3 separate regions of the Homo sapiens genome follow, and all the other regions are linked to region 3. The links are contacts of gene promoters, found by promoter capture Hi-C in blood cells and fetal thymus (Javierre and others, 2016). All regions are on one chromosome and are shown on one strand. The core of a region is centred on a gene start or on the middle of the fragment in contact, and the rest is flanking DNA. Distances in the headings are between cores, read along the strand shown. Region 1 holds the start of DACT3-AS1 (DACT3 antisense RNA 1). Region 2 holds the start of PTGIR (prostaglandin I2 receptor). Region 3 holds the start of SAE1 (SUMO1 activating enzyme subunit 1).

The links. The method cuts DNA at HindIII sites, captures the fragments that hold promoters and counts their contacts. A CHiCAGO score of 5 or more calls a contact.
Region 1: the fragment with the promoter of DACT3-AS1 here is called in contact with the fragment with the promoter of SAE1 in region 3 in 5 of 17 cell types (total B cells, non-activated CD4 T cells, naive B cells and 2 more); the score reaches 8.3 in total B cells.
Region 2: the fragment with the promoter of PTGIR here is called in contact with the fragment with the promoter of SAE1 in region 3 in 1 of 17 cell types (total B cells); the score reaches 5.7 in total B cells.

What each region holds. Positions count from the first base shown.
Region 1 is chr19:46,658,709-46,663,378 of GRCh38, reverse strand. It overlaps DACT3-AS1 (DACT3 antisense RNA 1), which reads right to left and starts at 3,015. Exons shown (of 3, transcript NR_040042.1): 1 at 2,971-3,015. DACT3 (dishevelled binding antagonist of beta catenin 3) reads left to right here and starts at 2,197. Exons shown (of 4, transcript NM_145056.3): 1 at 2,197-2,563. The coding sequence starts at 2,315. RefSeq lists silencers at 1,820-1,939, 2,150-2,399. The HindIII fragment of the contact is 2,055 bases long and covers 2,105-4,159 here.
Region 2 is chr19:46,623,393-46,627,822 of GRCh38, reverse strand. PTGIR (prostaglandin I2 receptor) reads left to right here and starts at 2,734. Exons shown (of 3, transcript NM_000960.4): 1 at 2,734-2,826; 2 at 3,586-4,365. The coding sequence starts at 3,598. RefSeq lists an enhancer at 2,019-2,519. The HindIII fragment of the contact is 25,896 bases long and covers 1-4,430 here.
Region 3 is chr19:47,128,797-47,133,385 of GRCh38, reverse strand. It overlaps SAE1 (SUMO1 activating enzyme subunit 1), which reads right to left and starts at 2,551. Exons shown (of 9, transcript NM_005500.3): 1 at 2,358-2,551. The coding sequence starts at 2,455. RefSeq lists enhancers at 2,231-2,470, 2,163-2,777. The HindIII fragment of the contact is 6,112 bases long and covers 1-4,589 here.

The DNA.
Region 1 (4,670 bases), core at 1,766-4,265, 470 kb after region 3:
ATTTTTTTTTTTTTTTTTAAAGATTGGGTCTTGCTCTGTCACCCAGGCTGGAGTGCAATGGTGCAATCATGGCTCACTGTAGCCTCAGCCTCCCAGGCTCAAGTGATCCTCCTGCCTCAGCCTCCTGAGTAGCTCGCACTACAGGTACATGCCACCATATCCAGTTTGTGTGCCATGTTTGGAAGCAACTGTTGCTTGTTGATTCTCCAGACATCTATCTTTCTTTCTCTCTCTCTTTCTTTTTCTTTCTTTCTTTCTCTCTCTCTCTCTCTCAATTTCTTTCTTTCTTTCTTTTTTTGAGACGGAGTCTCCCTCTGTTACCCAGGCTGGAGTGCAGTGCCACAGTCTCGGTGTGTGCCATCATGCCCAGCTAATTTTTGTATTTTTAGTACAGATGGGGTTTCGCCATGTTGGCCAGGCTGATCTGAACTCCTGAACTCAGGTGATCTGCCCGCCTCAGCCTCCCAAAGTACTGGGATTACAGACGTGAGCCACTGCGCCTGGCTGATTCTCCAGAAATCTTTTGGCATCATCATTAATAAAAGCATCAAGAAGTCAAAAAGGAAATCAAGTGATCCTCCCGCCTCAGCCTCCCAAGTAGCTGGGGCTACAGGTGTGCACCACCACACCCGACTAATTTTCTAAGTCTATTTTGAACAAGAGGAAGACTGAATAAAGGTTGTCTCTAATAAATTTCAAGACATTTCCCCCCGGAAACTTACTAGATTAGTTTTTAAACTTATTTGTCAAACCCTTCTGTGGCTCTTAATCCATGGAAGACACTGCTCCAAGTACCTAATACATTTCATTGAATCCTCAGAACAACTGTATGAGGCAGCCAGTATTATGATCCCGTGATCAGATGAAGAAACGGTGGCACAGAGAGGTTAAGTAAGTTTTCCAAGGTCACACAGCTGGAAAGTGACAGATCTGTGACTCACCCCGAGGAAGTCTGGCTCCTGGAGACTTTGCTGTCTATCGCCACTATCAATTTCTCTCCATCTCACCACCAGAAGGTCACTTCGTGCACGGGGAATCATAAAAGAGGGAATTTCTTGTATGATCTTCTGGGCCTTGGCTTTTAGGGAGCCAAGGTCTGTCTGAGAGATGAGTATGAATATTAGAGCTAGGTCTTGGAAGTTGGTAGAGGCAGGCTCGGCGTAGTGATACAGATTGGCCGCCTGAGGGTGCCCCAGCCCTGCTTGCGGAGCCTGGAGAGACAGCAGGAAGCCTTGGAAACGAATGTCAGGCTCAGACTCCTAGGACCAGAGAACGTTGAGAATAGAGCATCATAGAAGGCTGAGAACAAAGCCCCTTAGAACGTAGAACAAAGGCCCCTGGAATGGAAGAATGATGAGCACACATCCTCCTAGCACCTGGGAGACAAAAGCTGCTTAGACTCTCTTCTGGTCAAAGCATAGAATCTTCCACCCAGGGTCTTATAATTCCAGAATTTGGAATGCAATCGATCTTAGACTCTTAGCAGCAAGACCGGCTACATATTTGGCCTAGTGCAAAGTGAAAATAAGGGGCCCCTTGCTCAAAAACTAAAAATTTCAAGACAGAAATTGCAGAACATTCAACCAAGCGCGAAGACCCTTCTAAGTGGATTCCAAGCCGGTGAAGCCGGCCCTAAGTAGAAACAATTTCATCGGAGGACGTCCGTCTGGTTTTACAGCTGAGTGTCTGGGAAGGCTTCTTGGAAGAGGAGGCGAAGTCAGGGCTCGACCCCCTAACCCTTTTCTCCCCCTGCGCAGCCTCAGAAGCTGAAGGTTGGGCGGGGTGGAGGGGTAGGAGCAGCTGCCAAACTGTCACGTGTACCCATTCCCTATTTATAGATCACCCTTCCCCTCGCGCCGGACAGTCCAATGGTAGCCAGCGCTCGCCCGCAAGAGGGTGGAACCTGCTGCAGGACCGGCCAGGCACAGACCAATGGCATTGAAGCAAGGGCGGGCTTGTTTCATTGTGACGCGTGGGGGGGCGTGGCCAGGGCCCCGAGGCAGTTGCACGGAGGGGGCGTGGCGAGCGGAGTGAGTAGGCAGTTGCGAGCATGCGTCGTGTTGGGCGGTGCGGTTGCACGCCCGAGAGTCTTCGTCAGGAAGCTTATTCGCCAATAGGCGGCTGTTGCTCGGTCGCCGGGGGCGTGGCCATGCAGATAAGGCGCGGGTGGGCGGCCCAATGGGCGGGCGCCTATGCAGATGAGACGGTGACAGCCCGGCCAGCGGGCGGGCGGGCAGGCTGCTGGGGCGGGGAGGTGGGACCGGGAGAGGGGTGGCCGCGGGGCCCGGCCGGGCTGGGGCGGGGGGCCGCAGCCATGATCCGGGCCTTCTCGTTCCCGGTGAGCCCTGAGCGGGGCCGGCTGCGGGGCTGGCTGGAGGGTAGCCTGGCCGGGCTCTGCGAGTTACATTGGCTCCGGGAGAGGCAGGAGTACCGCGTGCAGCAGGCGCTGCGGCTGGCCCAGCCCGGAATGGGGGGCGCCGAGGCCGAGGACGAGGAGGACGCCGATGAGGATGAAGATGCGGCGGCGGCGCGCCGGGCCGCAGCGGCCCTGGAGGAGCAGCTGGTAAGGGGCTGCCTGTCCGTCCGTCCCTCCACCCCCGTCTGTGTCTGTCTGTCTCGGTTGGATGCTCAGACACCGGGCGGGGGTTGGGGACCCGGGTAGGCAGGGAGTGAGAAAGGACAGGGGGTGGGGCTGGCGACCCCGGAGTTCCGGCGGCGGGCCGGACCTGGCCTCCCCGCCCCCAAATCGGGGGAGGGGGAACTGCATCGCCCCCACTGGGGCCTCGTGAGAAACACAGGCCCTGTCTCTTACACCCCTTCCCCAAAGAAAATCCTTGTGGGCGCCAAGTATGTGTCAAACCCGAGACCGGGTACTTTGCAGGCGTTGTCTTCTTGCGGCTTGGGAAACGGGGTGATAGTCCCCATTTAACAGAGAAACAAATTGAGGCTCAGAGAGAGCAAGCGACTCACCCAAGGTGACACAGCCAGGCTCCAAACATGCCCTTCTCTGGGCCCCGCCACCAGGGCTCCATCTTCCCTAAGTCCTGGTGTGCTTGGAGATCTCTGGAGGGGGCGGGGTGGGAGGAGGGGAATCTCAGGGCCTCCAGAGGGAGGGACCACTGCTGAGAGGAAGCTCACAGTCCCTGAGGACCCCCCACTGGGATCTTGACCCTTTGGTGACACTTCCCCTGCTTCCTACCTGGCCCCAGCTCTCCTTGACCCAAGGGGAGGCAGGTCGAGGCAGCGCCTGGGGGAGACTTCTGGACTCTGGGTGTTCTCATGGTGGAAGATGGGCAGAGGTCTCCGGAATGACTTGAGGACGCCCCATGCCTCTCCCCTTTCTATGTCATTCCTTGAGTCTCCCGATCTCGTCCTGGGTTCTGTCACTCTCTCCGTCCTGCCACATCCCTGTGACTTTCTGTGTCTGCTTCTCTTTCTTCATCCTGTCTCTCTGTCTCTGTGATCTCTGTGTCCCTCTGCATCTGTCTCCTTGGCCTTCCCTTCCTGCCTGTCTGCACCTCGCTCTCTTCTTCTTGCCCGACGTCCCAGGCTCAGTCTGTCTTCCCCTCCCCCCAGCCCGCACACCCTGGCTCCACGGCAGATCCCCATCCCCAAGCCTGTGTGTGGCCAGAGCTTCCCGTTTCGGGAAACCTGAGCCGAGGTGGCAGTGGAGGGGGCTCTCCCCGCCGCTGACCTCGACCGCCCCCTCCCCAGATGGGGAGTGGGGAGGAAGACTGAAGCCAGGCTCCCGGGGCTGCACGCCCGGCCCCTCCCCCTCTCAGGAGTGGGACCCCCCTGCACATTCTTTTCTGGAAACAGAAACAGCTGTGGGAGGCCCCACCCCCTCCCAAAGTTAGAGACGGATTGTGGGGGCCTTCGCTAGCTCCCCCCACCCCAAGCTGGCTCGGCTTGGAAGGCGCCTTCCATCCTGACAAGGAGAATGCGAGGCATGAGGTTGGGGTAGCTGTGGGTAGCTGTGTCCTCTCCCCCTCTGCCCTCGGTCTCTCCCCTTTTCACCCTTCACCTTCCCCATCTCTGCCCTTCAGTCTCCCTCTCCTCGGTCCCTCTGTCCCCTCCTCCCCCTCAGCCCTCTGTCCTCCCGGCACGAGCTGATAGTGGAGAGGCCTGTCCCCCCACCCCCCAGTCTCTAGGCAAAGCTTGTCCCAGCATCAGGGAGGAGGCGGTGGCAGGCGGGGGGAGGAGGAGGAGCAGAGAAGCGCTAAATATAAACTTCTCTAGTGCTGGGGGTTCCTGGGTCCCTCTGAAGAGTGGATTAGGGCTTCTTCTGATCCCCCAACCCTTGTCTTATGACTTATCCCCCCACCCCCAGCCCCTGCCAGGAATACACTTCCTTCAAGGCAAGAAAGACTGAAGCCAGACTTGATTACTTTCTAATAGGAATGATGGGGATACCAGGTAAAGATCAGGGGTGTGGCAGAGAAGAGAGGCAGGAATCCTGGGTGAGGGCAGGGGCTCCCTGGGTCCTGCTTGCTCTCAAGAAGGAAAAAGGTTCCTTTCATCAAGAATAACTTAAGTTAGACTTGCAGAATGACTTCCTAATAGAGATAAATGGGCACTGGATACCAACGAGGGGCACGTGAGGGGAGAAACAAGGTAAGGGAAGTTTGGGCAAAGGGGTCTCCAGGGGTCCTAACCACACTCTTATTAAG
Region 2 (4,430 bases), core at 1,485-3,984, 510 kb after region 3:
TGGAAGCTGCCCCTGGCACAACGCACCGTGGGTGATTTCTCACCCCAAGGCACCTGGCTGGGGAGTGGAACCCCCGTGTGGACCCTGCTGTGGGCTTGGCCCGGCTAGCTGGGGCCACGGCCAAGCAGGAGGCTGGGTTTCAGGGCAAGGTGACTGAGGCATGTCTGGCGCCAGTACGGACTCTGGGGAACTCAGTCCCCTCATTAGGAGGGAGTCACAGTCACTGCCACCCCTACCTGCTCCTGATGCAGGAACACAGAACCGATCCTGGGGTTGCGAGGGCTCATGACTCCTAGTGGCATCGGCGGGGAAACTGAGGCCTGAGGCCAGGCGTGGTGGCCTATAATCCCAGCACTTTGGGAAGCCGAGGTAGGCAGATCACTTGAGTCCAGGAGTTTGAGACCAGCCTGGGTGACACAGTGAAACCCTGTCTTTACAAAAATACAAAAATTAGCTAGCGTGGCAGTGGGTGCCTGTAGTCCCAGCTACTCAGGAGGCTGAGGTGGGAGGATCGCTTGAACCCCAGAGGTAGAGGTTGCAGTGAACCGAGATTGCAGCACTACACTCCAGCCTGGGTGACAGAGCAAGACCCTGTCTCAAAAACAAACGAACAGCCAGGCAAGGTGGTTCACGCCTGTAATCCCAGCACTATGGGAGGCCGAGGCGGGCGGATCACCTGAGGTCAGGCGTTCAAGACCAGCCTGGCCAACATGGTGAAACCCCACCTCTACTAAAAATATAAAAATTGGGCGCAGTGGCACATGCCTGTAATCCCAGCTACTCGGGAGGCTGAGGCACGAGAGTCGCTTGAACCCGGGAGGCGGAGGTTGCAGTGAGCTGAGATCATGCCAGTGTACTCCAGCCTGGGTGACAGAGCAAGATTCCATCTCAAAACAAAAACAAACAAGCAAAAAGAAAAACAACAACAAAAAAGAAACTGAGGCCTGGAAGGGACAAGGGTTTGACTGTGGTCCCACTGGGCATGGGAGCAGAGGGGACTTCCTGAATGTTAACCGTCCTTGTAACAGGAAGCGAGAGAGGGAGTCTCCGGGAACCAGAGGCCCCCCCGATGCCGAAACAAGATGCACGCCTGCCAGGCATCATCCTTCATTAATATGATATAACTTCCTGAGTTCCCTCTGGTCTGTCTGGGGACCTCACGGCATGAGGCGGGACAACGTGGCAGGACCTGGAGCCCACATGTACAGGCACCCCCAGAGCAGGGCTGGGGGGTCCCTTAGGGAGCCACGGTGGGGCTGGAACTTGGGCGTCCATCCTGCTGGAAGCTGCGGGTGCCAGCTGGGCAAGGGTGATAGGGAGATGGGGGGGAGGGGCAAAGGGGTTGTGGTCACACACCGGGGTACAGAGGGCAAGACGGCAGCTGCCCACAGTCCAGTCCTTGGGTTGGACACATCCCTCCTGGCCTTGGACAAGAGACACCCGCACAGCCTCTCTCCTTGTTACAAAGACCAATCTGGGATGTGCTGCAGGCCGAGGCTGGCCACCAGGTCCCTGAGGCCCGTGTTACCCCACGCACAGAGAAGGAGGCTGAAGTCTACCAGCTCCCTCTCCTCACCTGGGACCATCTCGCAGCAAGAAAAAAGGTGGTCAGATGGAAACAGGAAGCCAAGTCGAATGGATCTGAGACCGTCCCCCTGAGAAACAGCGGGGCTCAGAGAGGGTCTCTGAGGTTTTATCTGGCCCTTTTGGGCTGGGAGGCTGCCTGGGAAGCCACCGACTCCGTGGGAAGGGAGACCCGTGAACGCTGTGCGGGTAGCGGGAACATGTGGGTCTGTCACACTGGCCCGAGGCTGCAGCGGTGGTGGCTTGGCTGTGTTTGGGGAGGGTGGGGGACACATGGCAGCAATGTTGGAGCTGTGGACAGCTTCCTGTGATCAAAATATGATTCCTGAAGGTCAAGGTCACCAGAGCTTGGCCTGGGGCCTAGGGGTGCTGTGCGAGAAGTCGGACGGTGGCCCAGTGCTACCTTTCCATCATGGGCCATGGAAGTCTCCCAAGCCTGTCCCTGACAACTGGACACCAAATACACCCCTTCATGCTTTCTTCTCGGGTCTCTGCAGGGTGAGCTGGGTGCCCAGGGACAGGCTCGAGGGACTGGCATGTCTCTCTCTGGCCAAGCCTCCTTCCTCAGCTTTCTGGAAGGAGTGAATTGTGTCCAGGGACCAGAACTCTCAGTGGTGTCTGGAAAACACTACATCAGAGAGGAATTTCCTGGTCATTTCTCAATCCCTGGGCAATGTCCTCAGCCCCGGGGCCTGGAGCCCAGAATAGATCCCAGAGGCCACCCTGAGACAGCCCAGGCCAAGACCACCCCACTGAAGCCTGGTCAACTGTGCTCTTCAGGTCCCTCCTAGAGGCCCCCTACTACCCCGGGAGGCTCCAAGCCTAAGTGATGGTGACTCAGGAATTCCCCACCCAGGCCAGAGAGGGAGACACTGGGGGAGGGAGGAGACCTGTGTGTGGGGAGGTGGCAGGTGGCTCAGTGATGGGAACCAAGAGAGGATGTGGGGAGGAGAGTGGAGGCAGCGATGGGAGATGGATGTCCTGGATTGGGCGGGTGGACGGGGAGTGGGGAGTGTGCCAGGGGGCCCTCTGGAGAACAGTGAGGGAGGGCGGGGCAGAGAGAGGAAATGAAAAAGCTGGGGTGAGCAGGCAAGCTGAGGAGGGTGGGAAGGAGGGAGGGACGGAGGGAGGAGGGAAGGAGAAGCTGACACACAGACCGACACAGGCAGCGAGAGACACGAGGAGCAAAGCAAGTGAAGGCACAGACGCACGGGACAGGAGAGCCTGGGCAAGACTGGAGAGGTGCGGTGAGGGGCTGGGGATGCAGCAACACAGAGCAGGAGCAGGTAGAGGGTGTGGGGTTAGAGGGAGAAAGGTACGGGGAGGACAAGGACAAGGGAGGGGACAGAGACAGGGAGATATCAGCAAGAGACCGAGAGACAGGGAGGGAAAGAACTGGCAATGCCCGGATGTTCTCTGTCTCTTTAATGGCAGAAACAGAGCTAGAGAAGGAAAGAAACAGGAGGTGGTGGGGGGGTGGTGGGTGTCAGGCATGGTGGCTCACACCTGTAATCTCAGCACTTTGGGAAGCCAAGGTGGATGGATCACCTGAGGTCAGGAGTTCGAGACCAGCCTGACCAACATGGTGGAACCCCGTCTCTACTGAAAATACAAAAATTAGCTGGGCGTGGTAGTGGACGCCTGTAATCTCATCTACTCCAGAGGCTGGGGCAGGAGAATCGCTTGAACCCAGGAGGTGGAGGTTGCAGTGAGCCGAGATCATGCCATTGCTCTCCATCCTGGACAACAGAGTGAGACTCTGTCTCAAAAGAAACGAAAGAAAAGAAAGAGAGAAAGAGAAACAGGAAGGTGGGGAGAGACAGAGAGAGATACTGGAGAAGCCAGAGGGGAGAGGACTGCATACCCGCACACACAGGAGAACTGGGGGTTGGCTGGGAGGCCCCAGCTGCCAAAAGGACTGGCCAGCAGGGACATCTGAGTGGGCTGGGTGGTGGGGGTAGCCCTGGCTCCCTCTGACCCCCCACCTTGGGAACCCTCCAGCCCAGACCTGGGATGGCGGATTCGTGCAGGAACCTCACCTACGTGCGGGGCTCGGTGGGGCCGGCCACCAGCACCCTGATGTTCGTGGCCGGTGTGGTGGGCAACGGGCTGGCCCTGGGCATCCTGAGCGCACGGCGACCGGCGCGCCCCTCGGCCTTCGCGGTGCTGGTGACCGGACTGGCGGCCACCGACCTGCTGGGCACCAGCTTCCTGAGCCCGGCCGTGTTCGTGGCCTATGCGCGCAACAGCTCCCTGCTGGGCCTGGCCCGAGGCGGCCCCGCCCTGTGCGATGCCTTCGCCTTCGCCATGACCTTCTTCGGCCTGGCGTCCATGCTCATCCTCTTTGCCATGGCCGTGGAGCGCTGCCTGGCGCTGAGCCACCCCTACCTCTACGCGCAGCTGGACGGGCCCCGCTGCGCCCGCCTGGCGCTGCCAGCCATCTACGCCTTCTGCGTCCTCTTCTGCGCGCTGCCCCTGCTGGGCCTGGGCCAACACCAGCAGTACTGCCCCGGCAGCTGGTGCTTCCTCCGCATGCGCTGGGCCCAGCCGGGCGGCGCCGCCTTCTCGCTGGCCTACGCCGGCCTGGTGGCCCTGCTGGTGGCTGCCATCTTCCTCTGCAACGGCTCGGTCACCCTCAGCCTCTGCCGCATGTACCGCCAGCAGAAGCGCCACCAGGGCTCTCTGGGTCCACGGCCGCGCACCGGAGAGGACGAGGTGGACCACCTGATCCTGCTGGCCCTCATGACAGTGGTCATGGCCGTGTGCTCCCTGCCTCTCACGGTGAGTCCCCTCCGGAGCTGGGAGGAGTGGGGAGAGGAGGAGGGCAGCTCTGTGGGTTGTGCCCA
Region 3 (4,589 bases), core at 1,302-3,801:
GGTGTTGTGGCACATGCCGATAGTCCCAGCTACTCAGGAAGGTGAGGCAGGAGAATCGCTTGAACCTGGGAGGCGGATTCACTGCAATGGCAGTGAGCCGAGATCGTGCCATTGCACTCCAGCCTGGGCCACAGAGCAAGACTCCGTCTCAAAAAACAAACAAAAAACAGATCATGTTACTCCCACACTCAAAACACTCCAACAGGTTTTCCCACACACTTAGAATAAAAGCTACTCCTCAAATCATTTGGTTCCTGCCACCTTATTTCTCTAATTTGACAATCATGCCTGGGCCTCTGGGAATTTGCACTTGCTGTTCTCTTAGCTAGGAAAGTTCTCCCAGATGACCACAGGGCTCTTTCCCATATAAGTCTGAGGCTCAATGTTACCTCTTCAGAGCCCTTCCCTGGCCAACCTATCAAAACAACCCTCTCACTTCACCATCCTTTAATAACTGACACATATACACACGCTTGTGGATTTTTTTTTTTTTTTTGAGACGGGGCCTCACTCTGTCACCCAGGCTGGGGTGTAGTGGTGTGATCATGGCTCACTGCAACCTCCACCTCCCAGGGGCTCAGGTGATGCTCCCACCTCAGTCTCCTGACAAGCTGGGACTATAAACTTATGTCACCATGCCTGGCTAATTTTTGTATTTTTTTGTAGAGACTGGGTTTGGCAACATTACCCAGGCTAGTCTCAAACTCCTGGGCTCAAGAGGTCCCCTCCCCCCAACTCAGCTTCCCAAAGTGCTGGGATTACAGGTGTGAGTCACTGCGTCCAGGCTAAGTAAAAATATTGATCAATGAGGCCAGGCATGGTAGCTCATGCCTGTAATCCCAGCATTTTAGGAGTCTGAGATGGGGGGAGATCTCTTGAGGCCGAGGATCGCTTGAGCTTGGGAGTTCAAGACCAGTCTGGGCAACATGGCAAAACCCCATCCTACAAAAAAAAAAAAAAACAAAAATTAGTCGGATGATGTGGTGGGGCACGCCTGTAGTCCCAGCTACTTGGGAGGCTGAAGAGGGAATATCCCTTGAGCCTTGGAGGTTGAGGCTACAGTGAGCTGTGATCCCACCACTGCACTCCACTGGGCCACAGAGAAAGAAAAAAAAAAAAAACAAGCTGGGCACAGTGGCTCACGTCTGTAATCCAACCACTTTGGGAGGCTGTGGCGGGCAGATCACTTGAGGTCCGGAGTTTGAGACCAGCCTGGCCAACATGGTGAAAACCCATGTCTACTAAAAATACAAAAATTAGCCAGGCATGGTGGCGCGAGCCTGTAATCCCAGCTACTCAGAAGACTGAGGTGAGAGGAAGTCTTGAACCCGGGAGGCCAGAGGCTGCAGTGAACCGAGGTCACCCAACTGCACAAAACAAAAGACGTCCTGGCGCGGTGGCTCACTCCTGTAATCCCAGCACTTCAGGAGGCCGAGGCGGGTGGATCACTTGAGGTAAGGAGATCGAGACCAGTCTCGTCAATATGGCGAAACCCCGTGTCTACTAAAAATACAAAAATTAGCCGGGCGTGCTGGCGGGCCCCTATAATCCCAGCTACTCGGGAGGCTGAGTTAGGAGAATCGCTTGAATCCGGGAGGCAGAGGTTGCAGTGAGCCGAGATCGCGCCACTGCCCTCCAGCCTGGGCGACAGAGAGAGACTATCTCAAAAAAAAAAAAAAAAAAAAAAAGAATTCCCTAAGCTACTCCACAATGCCCAAACTACGTCTCCTGTCCTATCAAGACACAGCCCCATACCAAACACAAGCAACCTTTTCGGGAGCCTACGGCCGTCCCCCTCCAGCCTCTCCGAGCCTCTCAAGATTCCCATTTGAGATAACTTGCTCCAAAACTCCTCAAAACCCGCATTCTCTCAGACTGGCCCGCCCGTGAGCTCCCACAAGAGTGTAAGCTCCCGTCTGTCCGGTTGGCCAGTCCAGTCTCCCCTGTGTGCAGCACGGAACCAGGTCCCATACCCTCGAATGAATGAACTGCGTCCCTCACCTCACCCTTTCCACGTATCCCCAGCCCCTCTTATCCCCTAACCGCGATCAAACCCCACAATCACCGCTTTCGGGCCTCGGATTTCCTGAGTTTGAATTCTCCCGCTCTCTCAGGACTCCCCAACGCCCCCTTCAGAGCTCCCATCCTTCGGAACGGCCCTCCCAACCACTTCCCAGACCTTCCAGAAACATCCCCAATCAACTCCTCCAGTCCCCCCAAGAGAGAGACGATCCCAGAGCACAGAATTCCCGCCTCCTCCCTTCAAATCACACCTTCCCGCTCCTTCCGGGCCGCAAACGCCTCAGAATAGACGCCCCCTCCAGACCCTAGCGGCCTCAAGCCGCGCCGGCCCTGACCGTTTCTGGGCCTCCAGTCCCCACAGGCGGATCTGCCGGTCATACTGTGCCGCCTCCTCCTCGCTAATGCCGCCGCCAGCCTCCTCCTTCTCCACCATGGCGCCGGCTCTTCCTGCCTCAGCTCCGGTCCCGCTCAAGCCAACCGCCCGCCGGACCCGCGCGCCACCTACCGCCGCCGGCAGCACGCCCGGAGTGCTTCTGCGCATGCGCAGACCCTCCCACGCCTGCGCAGTACCTCGTCCGCGGAGCCTGGGACCAAAAGTACCTCACGAGACTCAAAGGCGATCCGGCGACTGCATGTCACGTGACGGAGGGTCCAACCAATCCTAGCCCCAAAAATGGCGCGGCTTAAGGCCCCGAGGGCGTTGCCCACGTGGTCACTTATGTGGCACTTAAATTCTGCAAATATTTAAGGAGTGCATACTGAGATCCCAGCAATAGGGATGTTGTAAAATAACGGTATTGAGTGAAATCGACAAAGCCCTGTCCTCATGGAGTTTACGATCCAGTGAGAAAAGCCCGAAGAGAAATAAATATAAACCCAGCGATGATAAATGCTTTGGAGAAAAATAAAGCAGGACATGGGGCTACAGAGTAACAGGGGTGGTCAGGGAAGGCTTATCAGAGGTGACATTGAACTGTCAATTTTTTTTTTTTTTTTTCATAGAGATGGGGTCCCTCTGTTGCCTAGGCTGGTCTCCAACTCCTGGCCTCAAGCCATCCTCCCGCCTCTGCCTCCCAAAGTGCTGGGATTACAACCATGAGCCACTGTGCCCAGCCTTTCATGTCCCTACTATGTGTTGCACTTTGTGCCCAGCCCTGGACATACAATAATAATAAAAATGAACACATCTCTGCCTTAGAGGCAGTCACGGCCCAGTGGGAGAGAGGAGCGTTAAGAAAACAGGAATAGGCCAGGCACGGTGACTCGCACCTGTAATCTCAGCACTTCGGAAGGCCAAGGCAGGCAGATTACTTTAAATCAGGAGTTGGAGACCAGCCTGGCTAATGTGGTGAAATCCCGTCTTTAGTAAAAATAAAAAAATTAGCAGGGCATGGTGGCTCACACTTGTAGTCCCAGCTACTTGGAAGGCTGAGGTAGGATAATTGCTTGAATCCGGGAGGCGGAGGTTGTAGTAAGCCAAGATCATGCCTCTGCACTCCAACCTGGGTAACAGAGCAAGACTCTGTAAAAAAAAAAAAAAAAGAAAGAAAGAAAGAAAGGAAGGAAGGAGGGAGGGAAAGAGAGAGGGAAAGGAAGGAAGGAAGGGAAAAAAAAAAAAAACCAGGGATGGCCCCAGGTGGTCAATATAGGGAAACGCTATCTCTATTAAAAATACAAAAATTAGCTTGGTGTGGTGGTACTGAGTCTATAGTCCCAGCTACGTGGGAGGCTGAGGTGGAAGGATTTCTGATGTTAGAATCATAGGCTTTTTGGCAGGGCACAGTGGCTCATGCCTGTAATCCCAGCACTTTGGGACGCCAGGGAGGGCAGATCACGAAGTCAGGAGTTCGAGACCAGCCCGGCCAAGATGGTGAAACCCCCATCTCTACTAATACTAAAAAATTAGCCGGGCGTGGTGGCACACGCCTGTAGTCTCAGCCAATTGGGAGGCTGAGGCCGGAGAATCGCTTGAACCTGGGAGGCAGAGGTTGCAGTGAGCCAAGATCCTGCCACTGCACTCCAGCATGGATGACAGAGACTCCCGTCTAAAAAAAAAAAAAAAAAAGCCACCATGCCCACCTAACTTTTGTATTTTTAGTAGAGACAGGGATTGCACCATGTTGGCCAGGCTGGTCTCGAACTCCTGAACTTGTGATCCACCCGCCTCGGCCTCCCAAAGTGCACGGATTACAGGTGTGAGCCACCATGCCTGGCGGAATCATAGATTTTTATTTAAGAATTGCTTAGGCCGGAGGTGGTGGCTCACGCCTGTAATCCCAGCATTTTGGGAGGCAGAGGTGGGCGGATCACGAGGTCAGGAGTTCGAGATCAGCCTGGCTAACATGGTGAAACCTTGTCTCTACTAAAACTACAAAAAATTAGCCGGGCGTGGTGGCAGGCGCATGTAGTCCCAGCTACTGAGGAGGCTGAGGCAAGAGAATAGCATGAACCTGGGAGATGGAGCTTGCAGTGAGCCGAGTTCGCGCCACTGCACTCCAGCCTGGGCAACAGAGCAAGACTCCGTCTCAGAAAAAAATAAATAAATAAATAAATAAATAAATAATAAG